5 separate regions of the Homo sapiens genome follow, and all the other regions are linked to region 4. The links are contacts of gene promoters, found by promoter capture Hi-C in blood cells and fetal thymus (Javierre and others, 2016). All regions are on one chromosome and are shown on one strand. Each heading gives the region's core, a stretch centred on a gene start or on the middle of the fragment in contact. The rest is flanking DNA. Distances are from core to core; before and after follow the strand shown.

Region 1 (2,700 bases), core at 140-2,639, 340 kb after region 4:
GTGGGGGATGGTTTGGGATGATTCAAGTGCATCACATTTATTGTGCACTTTATTTCTATTATTATTACGTTGTAAGATATAATGAAATAATTATACAACTCAGCATAATGTAGAATCAGTGGAGCCCTGCACTTGTTTTCCTGCAACTAGACGGTTCCATCTGGGGATGATGGGAAACACTGATGGATCATCAGGCATTAGATTCTCATAGGGAGCATGCAGCCTAGATCCCTCATATGCTCAGTTCACAATAGGGTTCACATAGCTATGAGTATCTAGTGCCGGCGCTGATCGGACAGGAGGCGGAGCTCAAGCAGTAATGCGAGTGATGGGGAGCGGCTGTCAATACAGATGAAGCTTCACTTGCTCACCCGCCTGCTGCTCCCCTCCTGCCGTGTGACGCAGTTTCCTAACAGGCTGTGCACCTGTGCTGGGGTTTGGGGACCTCTGCTGTACAGCAATTAAAAAAGAAGTAACAGTTCTATGTTTAGGAATGGATAAATCACAAGAACACGAAGTTGCAGGAGGACATAAACGGTTCGTGGCACACACGCATGTGTATATATCCTGTATATGGTTTAGAAATATGCAAAAAATGCTAAGCCTTCTTTATAGATCAATGGATATGTAGAAACATAACAAAGAAAACCTGGAATTGTATTAAAAAAATACAAACAAACAAAAAACCTTTTCCCAAACTAGGAGGAGGCTGAGAGACCAAAGAATGACTGAGACACGTCCAGCTTGGCAAGTAGATGAGTTTATTTGGACCTACATACAAGGCCTCCTGGGCAGTAGCAGGACAGCTTTAGAGACCTGCATTGCCTCCCATTTTCCCACTCTTTTTTTTTTTTTTTTGAGACGGAGTCTTGCTCTGTCTCCAGGCTGGAGTGCAGTGGCGTGATCTTGGCTCGCTGCAACCTCCGCCTCCTGGATTCAAGTGATTCTCCTGCCTCAGCCTTCTGAGTTGCTGGGACTACAGGCTCATGCCACCACGCCCAGCTAATTTTTGTATTTTTAGTAGAGATGGGGTTTCACCATGTTGGCCAGGCTGGTCTCGATCTCTTGACCTCGTGAACCACCCACCTTGACCTCCCAGAGTGCTGGGATTACAGGCATGAGCCGTGCCCGGCCACACTCTTGAGCTGCCTTTAAGCTAATTTTCTGGCTCTTTGCCCACTGTGTGAGTGATGGACTGTTTTTCTTGGTAGTTTCTTAGAAACCCTCCGGGACGCTTGGTTCTGAGGGACACCTGCTCCTCTGCTGGGCACTGTGGCCTTGGCTCATGGCCTGGCCTTCAGGGTTCAGGCAGCAGACACACACTCTTTAGTAACTTGGCTGGGGACCCATCACACTACAGAAAAGCATGAAAACAAACACAGCAATGACACGTGTCAAGTTCTGGAGAGAGAGGGAAAGGAGTCAAATCACAGGCATAGATGTATAAGAGGCTTCAACTGTATCTGTAATATTTCGTTTCTGAGAAAAAAATATCTGAAGCAAATTTGGCAAAAGGTTAAGATTTGCTAAAGCTGAACATTGAGCAGATGGGTGTTTGTTGTTATTCTCTTTACTCTTCTGCATATTTCTTTTTTTTTTTTTTTTTTTTTTTTGAGACAGAGTCTCTCTCAGTCACCCAGGCTGGAGTTCAGTGGCGCGATCTCGGCTCACTGCAAGCTCCGCCTCCCGGGTTCACCCCGTTCTCCTGCCTCAGCCTCCCTAGTAGCTGGGAGTACAGGCGCCCGCCACCACGCCCGGCTAATTTTTTTGTACTTTTAGTAGAGACGGGGTTTCACCGTGTTAGCCAGGATGGTCTCGATCTCCTGAGCTCGTGATCCGCCCACCTCGGCCTCCCAAAGTGCTGGGATTACAGGCGTGAGCACCGCGCCTGGTCTCTTCTGCATATTTCAAAGATGTCAGAATTGAAAAATAATAGTCACTGACTTAGCATGACAGAGAAACCTTCAAGCATAGATTTGCAAAGGGAGATACCTGTGGGAACCAAGCCACTAGAGTCACAGAATCTCAAGGAGGCAGCAAAACGGATTTAAAATTGGGCAGAATGTTGTGTGACAAAGCACGATCCACTGGGTGTTGTGTCTGTACATACACGGGACCTGGAAGGACACGGTCAACTGCAAACTGCTCGTGATTGTGGACGGCCTTGTTCTCTGCTTCTTGTGTTTTTCGGTTTCTTATAATGCACATATTAACTAAGAGTAATTAAATTATCCTAATTTCTATCACATTAATTTATATTAATTTAATTAATAAATTAATTAAAAATAAAGATTACTTTTAAAACCAGAAAAACATGGTTGGAAGAGAAAAACCAACCTTAAAATGTTTTTTGACATTTGGGACATAAACATTGCCTGAAATGAAAACATAAATAAATAAATGGAATATTGGGAAAGCTTGGTAAAAATTAAATTGCTATACATTCTACAAATTGCTAAAAGGAATAAAGTTTTGGCTAGGCGTGGTGGCTCACACCTGTAATCCTAGCACTTTGGGAGGCCGAGGCAGGGGGATCATGAGGTCAGGAGTTCGAGACCAGCCTGACCAACATGGTGAAACCTCGTCTCTCCTAAAAATAGAAAAATTAGCCAGGCTTGATGGTGCACGCCTATAATCCCAGCTACTCAGGAGGCTGAGGCACAAAAATCTTTTGAACCTGGGAGGCGGAGGTTAGAGTGA
Region 2 (2,714 bases), core at 150-2,649, 380 kb after region 4:
GTGGGATTTGCTAACAGGATCAAATTATTGATCACACGAAATATCTTTGCTTTTTCTGTTTTCTACTAACATATCCATTTATGAACAATAAGCCTTATTTCTACATTTAATGCTAGTCTGATAAAACCTAATAGAATTTATTCACAAAGTAATCATTAATCCTTTACTTTTCCTTTCTCTATACTGTAAGATACTCCTAAAACCTGAAAATGCAAATATTTGATTGTAAACATCTGTTTAAACAAACAGTGAGTACTAAAGGCAGAGTTGGTCCACCCACTCTCTGTAAACTCTGTTTAAACAAAAAGTTAGAGGGGTCTGTTTTTACTTTAAAGTTCTGGGGTACATTAACTGAAATAGTGTGTATTGGTGATCAGGATCAGAGCACTGTATTCAATGCTGAGTTTTGAAAGGAGCATCACGGCTGGGCACGGTGGCTCACGCCTGTAATCCCAGCACTTTGGAAGGCCGAGGTGGGCAGATCACTTGAGGTCATCAAGACCAGCCTGGCCAACGTGGTGAAACCCTGTCTCTACTAGAAATACAAAAATTAGCCAGGCGTGGTGGTGGGCTCCTGCAATCCCAGCTACTTGGGAGGCTGAGGCAGCAGAATCGCTTGACCCAGGAGGTGGAGGTTGCAGTGAGCCGAGATCATGCCACTGCACTCCTGCCTAGGCAACAGAGTGAGACTCTGTCTCAAAAAAAAAAAAAGAAAAAAGAAAGGAGCATCACAAATTGCCCAAATACAGAGGAAGTCCATCAGGAGAGTAGATGTATCTAGAAACCCATTATGTAGAGAACTGGAGGTGTTTAATTCTTAGTTTTCATGAGGGGAAAAAATGGAATGTGCTGGTCTTCATAAGAGAAGTCATGGGAAAGCAGATTTGGGCTTAATGTAAACGTTTTCAAATAGCTTGAACGTTCCCATGGCAGGATGTGCTTCCTCTTGAGAGAGTAAATCTCATCACTGGAGTGAGTCGTCATGATTTCTGTCTGTTGAGCACTTAGTTCTTGCCAATGCTTTGTGTATATTAGTTTTAATTCTAATCACACCCTCCTAGTTATTTTTTTTAATAAATAAAGAAACTGAAATTCACATGAAGTATCTACATTGCCACCTGACTGAGATTCAAACCTCAATCTCTCTGGCTCCAAAGGCTATGTTTTTTCTCTAAGATGACAGGTATTCAAGCAGAGTATCATCAATAATGTCACAGAAAAGTTTCTTGGTTTGGGGTCAGGTGGCTTCTAGAGAGAGAACCATTGTGAATGACCGATGTGTCCAGCACTGTTCAGGCATTTAATCTCTGTTCTCAGTTACATACAGTATCTTCTAAGATTCCATGTTCTTTTTAATAGCATCAGTTATGACTTCCACCCTCTTGGCTAGTGGTCTTTACCTTTCCCTCCCCAACCCTGCATACCCCTCATAACTGAAGAATGATGAGACTGTTTTTGTTGTCACCATGCTGTTCCCCTCTCCTGCAAGCTACCAGTATTCAGTAGGCAGAATCAGTGGGTGTCCTGCAGTGCTGGGATAGTCTCCAAACAATAAAGAATTGTCTCCCCAAAAACATCTGTAGTGCCTGGGTTGAGACTCACTCTACATGTATGGGGCATAGTGACCCTACAACCTCTATCTTCCTTTTCCACTCCTAGGTTTTGACCAAGCCCTTTATAAATCTCCTACATTCTCCACCCTAGTGGTGATAATCTGCCCTTGTGGTTGTAAAGAAAGACCTATACAACCAGATGGATATGTTTTAAGTAGGCAGATTGTACAGTGTGTCTTTGAGTAGTCATTCTGTCATCCTTCAGCTGTACCACTTTTCCATCAGTGGTTCATTAACCACTAGGCATGGCAATAGACAATTGGGTACGCAAAAGTGATGTGTACTTTTCAGATTAGATGAGGAATGGGCATTCAGAATTTACTGTCTTGCCCCCAGTTCCAGGTAAGACGTTTTAGTGGCAGGCACTTGCTAGTGAACAGCCCTGGAAACAAGTATTTTGAAAAAGGGAGGCTCAGGTAATTTCTTATTTTGATTTGCCTGGTAAAATTGCTAAAGGTTCATGGTAGATTTGTTTCTACACTGGGTTGTGATGTAACAGCCATACAACCATGCTTTTAAGAAATGACTTCCTTAACTGAAGTTGAAACTCTATAATTATTTCCACAGTTGTCTTCCTAAAACCTGTTGATCCAGTATTATCCTAAACTTTAAGGATAGCCAGTCTATGGGGGAGCCCAAGAATGTAGGCACAGTAATAGTGGAAGGGAGTTCTGACTATTTTGAGTTACTTCTCTCTGAGCAAACAAATTTTATCTCAAGGCAGGAATTGAATGATTGCCATGTTCAGCATACCTATCTTTTTTCTTATGTAACAGTAATTATAAAGTTATGTCTTTTGACTTAGGTTTAAATAATTAGGCAGGGCCAGGTGTGGTAGCTTATGTGCCTGAGGGCTCATGCCTGGGATCCCAGCACTTTGGGAGGCCAAGGCAGGCAGATCACTTGAGCCCAGGAGTTCGAGACCAGCCTGGACAACATGGCAAAACCCTATCTCTACCGAAAATACGAAAATTAGCCAGGTGTGCTAGCATCCACCTGTGGTCCCAGCTACTTAGGAAGTTGACGTGGGAGGATCACCTGAGCCCAGGGAGGTGGAGGTTGTAGTGAGCCATGATCTCGCCACTGCACTCCAGCCTGGAT
Region 3 (2,830 bases), core at 301-2,800, 410 kb after region 4:
AGAGTCTTGCTCTGTCGCCCAGGCTGGAGTGCAGTGGCGGATCTCGGCTCATTGCAAGCTCCGTCTCCTGAGTTTAGGCGATTCTCCTGCCTTAGCCTCCCGAGGTAGCTGGGACTACAGGCACGCGCCACCACGCCCGGCTAATTTTTGTGTTTTTAGTAGAAAGAGGGTTTCACCATGTTGGCCAGGCTAGTCTTGAACTCCCGACCTCAGGTAATCTGCCTGCCTTGGCCTCCCAAAGTGCTGAGACTACAGGGGTGAGCCACGGCGCCTGGCCGCATATTTTGATTTTTAAAGCAATTATTTCTTCTCTTCTTGCTGGTGGGTGGGGCACCTTGGGTACGTAGTGTTATACTTTGGTCTAAGTATTTTGAGTTAAACTGCTTTTTTGCTAAAATGAATGGGCTGGTTTTTATCAGGTTTATTTTTCCTGCTGTTGTTACTAATGGCATTAACTTTTAGAGTCGGAAGCGGTAAGACTGATTTTTTAAAATATCCCAGAGATATGGCTTCTAATTGACCTAGAGATTTGTCGTAATTTAACTTTTTTCTCCTGCCCCTTTTCTTCAGTAAATCCAACAATAACCCAGGTGTGGTGGCTCATGTCTGTAATCCCAACACTTTGGGAGGCCAAGGCGGGTGAATCACTTGAGCCCAGGAATTGGAGACCAGCCAGGACAACATAGTAAGATGCCTGTCTGTACATAAAAATTAAAACAAAAAAAAATTAGCTGGGCGTGGTGGTGCATACCTGTAGTCCCAGCTACTTGGGAGGCTAAGGAAGGAGAATCACTTGAGCCCACGAGGTCGAGGCTGCAGTATGCCGTGATCATGCCACTGCACTCCAGCCTGGGCAACAGAGTGAGACCCTGTTTCTAAAAAAGAAAATGTTGGCCGGGTGCAGTGGCTCACGCCTGTAATCGCAGCACTTTGGGAGTCTGAAGACCAGCCTGGGCAACATGGTGAAACCTCATCTGTACAAAAAAAATTTTTAAGTCCATATAGGTTATTACCGCTAAATAAACGGAAGCAGGTGTTTTCTCTTGGACATACTGAAAATATTTAAAAGAAAGCTTAGATGGCAGCATGAGCATGAAGAACCAAGAAAGCATACTTGGAGTCAGTGCAAATGTTAGCTACCTTTCCTTTGCTTAATTCTAGTGCTCGAGTAAGAGCTATCAGCTCAGCTAATTGAGTGCTTGGACGGAGAGACACACTTTCAATGACGTCATTTAGAGTGACTACTGCATATCCTGCCTTATGGATTCCTTGTTCTACAAAAGAGCTCCCATCTGTGAAGAGGGTCCAGTGTGGGTTCTCTAGCGGTTTCCCTGAGATCTTCCCTGGCTGCATAGGTCTGTATCAGGACTTGTTCACAGTCATGTTCAGGTTCCCTAGTTTCCTTGGGGAGGAAAGTGGCTGGATTTAGGCGAGAACAATTTTTTTGTTTTTGGTTTTGTTTTTGTTTTTTTTGAGACGGAGTCTCACTCTGTCGCCAGGCTGGAGTGCAGTGGCACAATCTCAGCTCAATGCAACCTCCACCTCCTGGGTTCAAGTGATTTTCCTGCCTCAGCCTCCCGAGTAGCTGGGACTACAGGCATGCACCACCACCATGCCTGGCTAATTTTTATGTATTTAGTAGAGATGGGGTTTCACTATGTTGGCCAGGCTGATCTTGAACTCCTGACCTCATGATCCACCCACCTCGGCCCCCTAAAGTGCTGGGATTACAGGCGTGAGCCACTGCACAAGTTTTTAATTGGATGTTGGAACCCTCTAACAGCAGGGCCTGATAGTTAAGGAGTCGACTGTTTGTTAGCCAAAGGCTCCCCCTAGAGTACAGTAGTCCTGCCATGTTATGTGGGGTGTAAACAGTTAAATCATTTCCCAGGGTTAATTTGGGGGCTTCTGGGACCAGTAGGGCTACTGAGGCAATGGCTCAAAGGCATGCTGGCCATCCTTTAGCCACCAAATCAAGTTCCCTACTTAGGTAACCCACTGGCTGTTGAGCTGCTCGTCAAGCTTACGTTAAAACTCCCAGGGCCATTCCCTTCCTTTCTGATACGTACAGATGGAAAGTCTTCCCTACAGGAAGGCTGAGAGCTAGTGCCTTAAGCAAGGCTCGTTTTAGCTGGTCAAAGGCCTTTCAAGCTTCAGGTTCCCAGATTAAAAGATGAGTTTTAGGCCGGGCGTGGTGGCTCACGCCTGTAATCCCAGCATTTTGGGAGGTCGAGGTGGGCAGATCACGGGGTCAGGAGATCGAGACCATCCTGGCCAACATGGTGAAACCCCGTCTCTACTAAAAATACAAAAATTAGCTGGGCGTGGTGGCGCATGCCTGTAATCCCAGCTACTCGGAGGCTGAAGCAGGAGAATTGCTTGAACCCGGGAGGTGGAGGTTGCACCACTGCACTACAGCCTGGTGACAGAGCTAGACTCCATCTAAAAAAATAAAATAAAATAAAGATGAGTTTTAGCTCCCTGAGCTTCTTTTATGAGGTTATATAACAGGTGGACTATTTCACAATACCCAGGTATCCATAGTCTACAAAATCCTGTAATGTCCCCAAATCCTCTTAGTTGCTTGAGGTTTTAGGGAGAAGGGAGGAAGAAATAGGCTGAATCATTTCTTCCCCTAATGCTCCAGTTCCCTTGGACAGCACTAAACCCAGGTACTTCACCGAGGTTTTGCAAAGCTGGGCCTTGGGTTTTGAATCCTTATATCCTCTGTTAGCTAAGAAGTTAAGAAGAGCTTCAGTGCCTTCCTGAGGAGCTTCCTTAGTTGGGGCACAGAGCAGAGTATCATCAACGTACTGCAAGACCCTAATTT
Region 4 (2,700 bases), core at 95-2,594:
TTCGGGAGGCTGAGGCAGGAGAATCGCTTGAACCGGGGAGGTGGAGGTTGCTGTGAGATCGCGCCACTGCACTCCAGCCTGGGCAACAGAGCGATATTCCTTCTCAAAAAAAAAAAATTTATTCAGTTAATGTATTTTATTTTTTGAGACAGAGTCTCGCTTTATTGCCTAGGCTGAAGTGCAGTGGCGCAATCACGGCTCACGCAGCCTCAACCTCCTGAGCCTAAGTGATCCTACCCACCTCAGCCTCCTGAGAAGCTGGGACCACAGGCTCGCGCCACCACATCCAGCTAATTTTTTGTAGAGACAGGGTCTCCCTGTGTTGCTCAGGCCAGTCTCGAACTCTGGGACTCAAGCGATCCACCTGCCTGGGGCTTCCCAAAGTGCTGGGATGCCTAAGTGCCAGGCATGATTTGCACTTCTACCACTTTTAGTTACTACTTTAGACAGTTCCACATCCTGACCATTTTGAACTTAAAGCATCCTGTGAGATGAAAACTGGAACCTTCTGACTTTGTCTATTATTCATCTCCTCAGTCTAAACCTGTAGCTTTTTTTAGATGCTAATGCCATACTGTCATGTGGAATTTCTAGCATTCTGTGAATGGAATCCATATTAATATACTTTAAGCACTTACACCACAGTTATCTTAAACTGTAGGCTATTTATTTGGATCTTACTTACATGTGTGAGAAAAGTAGAAAAAGAAGATGCCTCCTTTCCATGTTCACAAATCAGTAACAGCAGTAAAATGAAAGGAATTTACTTTCTCTAATGTCTCACTCCAAAGTTCCGAAAACCTCTTTTTAACATACAATGACTATTGTCCTGTGGACTTTTTTTTTTTGAGATAGAGTTTCACTCTTGTTGTCCAGGCTCAAGTGCAGTGGTGCAATCTCAGCTCCCTGCAACCTCCACCTCCCAGGTTCAAGCGATTCTCCTGCTTCAGCCTCCCGAGTAGCTGGGATTACAGGCGCCCGCTGCTACCATGCCCAGCTAATTTTTGTATTTTTAGTAGAGACAGGGTTTCATTCACTATGTTAGCCAGGCTGGTCTCAAACTCTTGACCTCAGGCGATCCACTCGCCTCAGCCTCCCAAAGTGCTGGGATTACAGGCATGAGCCACCGCGCCTGACCCCGATGAGCCATTTTGGACCCAGGGCTTTGTCTGTCAGGTGTGTTGGATGAAGCCCAGTTATATGCTTAAGTCTCTGGCTTCATCCTGTCATCCCAATTTGGAAGCCCATTAAGAAAGTGAGCTCTGTTTTGTTTTTAGTGATCACTACATTTTCCCCTAAACTCAGAGAAAGATCTATGAGCACGTAAAGCATCAAGGTTGTGGCTTTCAACAGTCTCTAGGGGGTTATTAAAGAGGAACTCTCTCTCTCTCTGAAAACCCACTTATTTTTCACTACGAAGGATAAAAGGGCCCTTTGTCATATATTGGGTCAAGGTCCAGAGTCTACACTTGGGTTTAAAGGATGCACTGCTGAGGATATGGTGTGTGCAGGGAAAAGGGAAGCCGCTTGCGTGGCAGTCGGGCGTAGAAGTGACTTTGTTGTATGTGGTATAACTTTTGAGCCCTGTCTCTACTAAGAGTCTGGACTTCGCATAAGTGCTTCACAGAAGGTCGACATCCCCCTTTTTGGGCAAGGGATTTCTGGTAGGCTGGGATGAGAGAAGTTGATTTCCAAACCAGAATTAATGAATGTCTCTACCGTACTTAGAAATACTATTTAAGCAAGGCTCTGAAGTTGCTTAACTTTTGTCTCTATTTGAAATTCTAGGGTGACAATGAAGAACAAGAAAAATTACTGAAGAAAAGCTGTACGTTATATGTTGGAAATCTTTCTTTTTACACAACTGAAGAACAAATCTATGAACTCTTCAGCAAAAGTGGTGACATAAAGAAAATCATTATGGGTCTGGATAAAATGAAGAAAACAGCATGTGGATTCTGTTTTGTGGAGTATCCTTCCCATGGATCTAATGTAGCTGCTGAACCAGGGTAGAGCTGAGAGTGGTAGCTCATAAGCGTCCCTGCACTCGTCCCTACGTTTTCCTTCATCTCCCTCCTACTTTCCACCCAGTGTGTCTCTGCCCTTATACTGTAAAGCTGATACTATTTATATTCTCTTCTGAAATCCATGCTTTATGGTTCTTTAACAAAAAGTTTTTCAAGAATGTTTGCCCTTCACGTAAAAAAAAAAAAATTCCAAAGAATGTAGTGAAAATATAAAAATCTCGTACTGTTCTAAACCCCTAATGCCCTTTGCCAGAGGCAGTCAGTTACCAGTTTCTTGGGCGTCTTTCAAGAAGTAACCCTGTGGGTGTGCGGTAGTGTATTTCATGTGCTGTTTTTAAAATCATTTTTTTATTTTTTATTGTTCCATTTCAGCATATGTAGGTCTTTTTTTAAAATAGCTGTACAGCTGGGCATGGTGGCTGGTGTTTGTAGTGCCAGCTGCTCAGGAAGCTGAGGCAGGAGGATCAGTTGAGCCCAAGATTTCAAGGCTGCACTGAGTTGTGACTGTGTTCCAGCGGGGGTGACGGGTTAAGACCCCATCTTTAAAGAAAAAAACTTTTAAGTAAATAGCTGTATAGTATTTCATTATATAGATGTATATAACCTGACTGTATAGGTACAAACCAAAACTATTTACTTTGATCATTTAATTCCCTTACTCAGACTCTTTTAA
Region 5 (2,700 bases), core at 194-2,693, 360 kb after region 4:
CTTTAGTATGCCTGACTTGAGGTCATTACTGAGGCTGGAACTTTCACGCCACAGGTGGCTCTGAAATATGCAATCTATAGTTCTTTAAAGACTTCCAATTTCTTATCAGATTATTGTATATTACACCCTGTTAAGTCTGTAGTAATAAATACGGCTTTTACAAATAGGAACTATAATTTTAACTTGAGTCAAATGAGTATGCCTTAAGCCTAAGATGAAAAGAATAAAAAATACAGCAGTTTGCCTGAATTTGCCTGTCTCTGCAGAACTCACTGATGCCTCCAGGGGCTTTGAATCCACAAACATGTGCATGCACAGAGCTGTATTTACTGGGGTAAGGAGCCTAGAAAAAGATTTGGATGTGCCGTGATACAGGAAAGATGACCATCTAGAGCAGGGGTATTCAATCCTTTGGCTTCCCTGGGCCACACTGGAAGAATTGTTTTGGGCCACACATAAAATACACTAACACTAAAGATAGCTAATCAGCTTTAAAAAAAAAAATTGCAAAAAAATCTCATAATGTTTTAAGAAAGTTTATGAATTTGCATTGGGTCACAATCAAAGCCATCTTGGGCTGCATGCAGGCTGTGGGTTGGACAAGCTTGATATAGAGCATGAACTGGCAAACTACAGCCCCTGGACCAAATCTGTCCTGCAGCCCATAAATAAGGTCTATGGAATACAGCCATGTTCGTTCATTTACGTATTATCGATGACTGCTTTTGTACTATAAATAGAGTTGAAACTCGTGATAGATCCTTACCTTGAAAATGACATTAAAAAAAAAAAGTTGTGACAGAGACCATATGGACTGCAAAGACTTAAAGATTTACTACGTGGCCCTTACAAAAAGTTTGCCAACCCCTGATCTGGAGCAAAAATAGGCTGCTTAAAGTTGTATTAGGAAACAAATATTGAGATAGATCATTTATACATTTATTTAAAAATGGTCAAAAAATCTCCTTGAGGCTGGGCATGGTGGCTCACGCCTGTAATCCCAGCACTTTGGGAGGCCAAGGCAGGTGAATCACGAGGTTAGGAGTTCAAGACCAGCCTGGCCAAGATGGTGAAACCCTGTCTCTACTAAAAATACAAAAATTAGCCAGGCATGGTGGTGGGCGCCTGTAATCCCAACTACTGAGGCTGAGGCAGAGAATTGCTTGAACCTGGGAGGTGCAGGTTGCAGTGAGCCGAGTTGGCGCCACTGCACTCTAGCCTGGGCAACGGAGTGAGATTCTGTCTAAAAAAAAAAAAAGAATATTTTTCTGCATAGCCAAAATCAAAATATAACACCCAACAAAATTAACTATAACCCCCTAACATTAAAAAAAAAAAATCTCCTTGAAGTCTGGGTATCTGAAAAAATAAAAAAATAATAAAAATAAAAATTACCAAAAAGACAAAAACTGCTATATAAAAATTTGTAAATTTAAAACAAATTAAGGCGTGATTTGACAAAGGCCCATACTTGAGAAAAACCCCAGTTTCTCACCTGATATTTTGGTGCGTTGTTGCACTGTGGAAAACTGCCATTGACTTCTCCATTATGTAGTAGATTATTGTCCACCAGATTCCAGCCCCAGCTCTGGTCATCACTGCCCAGCAATGCCACATAACCTTGGCACTGCATGGGGGCCCGTTTTGTGGCAATTCCAATCACTGCCACAGTGCCCAGAGGGCCCTCCCACCACACTTCCCATGCATGGCGGCCCTCACTGAAACCAATCTTGGTCCTTGCACCATCAGTGCTCTGAGCAATGGGGTTTCGATGTAAAGTAAAGCCATTCTTCTTAATGTAGACATTCCTGGAGCAGTCATTAGTGCTGAAGGCATGTTGAAAAGCACGTATCTAAAAAGATGAAAAACAGACCAAATAAATAACAATTTTATTTTTCTTAAATATTAAAAATTACCCAAACTTCACGCTGTATGTTTTTAAATAACGAAGTTATATATTTTAAAATAACACAAGTATTTCCAAATAATGGCTGAAGTTTCAGGATGGAATACTAACAGAATAAATAACATTAAAAAATAAATGCCAACCGTTTCATCACTGACCAAAATTTTAAATTGTAGTATTTCCTCAAACAGACTTCTTAAAACATCAAAAGATACAAAAAAGAAAAATCCTTATATCTTACAGATAATACTGAAACGTTTATGGATAAAATAATGGTATCTGGGAATTGCTTTGAAATATCCAGAGATGGAGTGGGAGAGTGTGCAATAGAAACATGAAACTAGACTGGCCATAAATTAATCATTGGCAAAGCTTGGTGATGGGTATAAGGAAGTTCATCAAACTATTTTCTCTACTTTTGTTTATATTTGATATTTTTATACCAAAAAGTTGAGATGTACAGTTTTCATATGGGCAATGCTGTCATCAAAAAGAATTATATTTTACATAAAACAGAAACTTTAATCCTAGCAGCTCTAAAGTTTATGAAAAATTTTAGTAAACACAAACTACCTTAGATCCTCAGCCTACTTGCTGGATATGACTTACACAATAAAAAAATCACCAATCTCATTTTACCAAATCAAATAATCCCTTAGATAGCATCTAGGTTCAACTACTAGAATTTATGAAGAGAAGCTATCAATAAGACAAGTTAGTTGACTCTTCAGTAAATACAAAGGTTTACACTTCCAAAATAAAGAGGGTATGAAAATAGCTCTTCTATACAAACA

Evidence for each region. The method cuts DNA at HindIII sites, captures the fragments that hold promoters and counts their contacts. A CHiCAGO score of 5 or more calls a contact.
Region 1: a fragment that was not itself captured here is called in contact with the fragment with the promoter of NCBP2-AS1 in region 4 in 9 of 17 cell types (fetal thymus, naive CD4 T cells, naive B cells and 6 more); the score reaches 10.3 in fetal thymus.
Region 2: a fragment that was not itself captured here is called in contact with the fragment with the promoter of NCBP2-AS1 in region 4 in 5 of 17 cell types (M2 macrophages, neutrophils, naive CD4 T cells and 2 more); the score reaches 6.3 in M2 macrophages.
Region 3: a fragment that was not itself captured here is called in contact with the fragment with the promoter of NCBP2-AS1 in region 4 in 3 of 17 cell types (endothelial precursors, erythroblasts and megakaryocytes); the score reaches 6.7 in endothelial precursors.
Region 5: a contact is called between a fragment that was not itself captured here and the fragment with the promoter of NCBP2-AS1 in region 4, in 5 of 17 cell types (neutrophils, naive CD4 T cells, M2 macrophages and 2 more). The highest score is 8.1, in neutrophils.

Annotation. Positions count from the first base shown.
Region 1 is chr3:196,602,428-196,605,127 of GRCh38, reverse strand. No RefSeq gene overlaps it. Among named protein-coding and RNA genes, the nearest start is that of LINC01063, 29 kb to the left of the region's middle. The HindIII fragment of the contact is 2,060 bases long and covers 360-2,419 here.
Region 2 is chr3:196,558,245-196,560,958 of GRCh38, reverse strand. The region is part of intron 3 of WDR53 (WD repeat domain 53); the gene reads left to right. Among named protein-coding and RNA genes, the nearest start is that of WDR53, 9.0 kb to the left of the region's middle. The HindIII fragment of the contact is 8,026 bases long and covers 1-2,714 here.
Region 3 is chr3:196,523,737-196,526,566 of GRCh38, reverse strand. No RefSeq gene overlaps it. Among named protein-coding and RNA genes, the nearest start is that of SMCO1, 9.8 kb to the right of the region's middle. The HindIII fragment of the contact is 949 bases long and covers 1,076-2,024 here.
Region 4 is chr3:196,938,521-196,941,220 of GRCh38, reverse strand. It overlaps NCBP2-AS1 (NCBP2 antisense RNA 1), which reads right to left and starts at 1,344. Exons shown (of 3, transcript NR_046630.1): 1 at 1,094-1,344; 2 at 79-247. NCBP2 (nuclear cap binding protein subunit 2) reads left to right here. Exons shown (of 4, transcript NM_007362.5): 2 at 1,789-1,970. The HindIII fragment of the contact is 10,665 bases long and covers 1-2,700 here.
Region 5 is chr3:196,576,605-196,579,304 of GRCh38, reverse strand. FBXO45 (F-box protein 45) reads right to left here. Exons shown (of 3, transcript NM_001105573.2): 2 at 1,496-1,852. Among named protein-coding and RNA genes, the nearest start is that of FBXO45, 9.3 kb to the right of the region's middle. The HindIII fragment of the contact is 1,674 bases long and covers 607-2,280 here.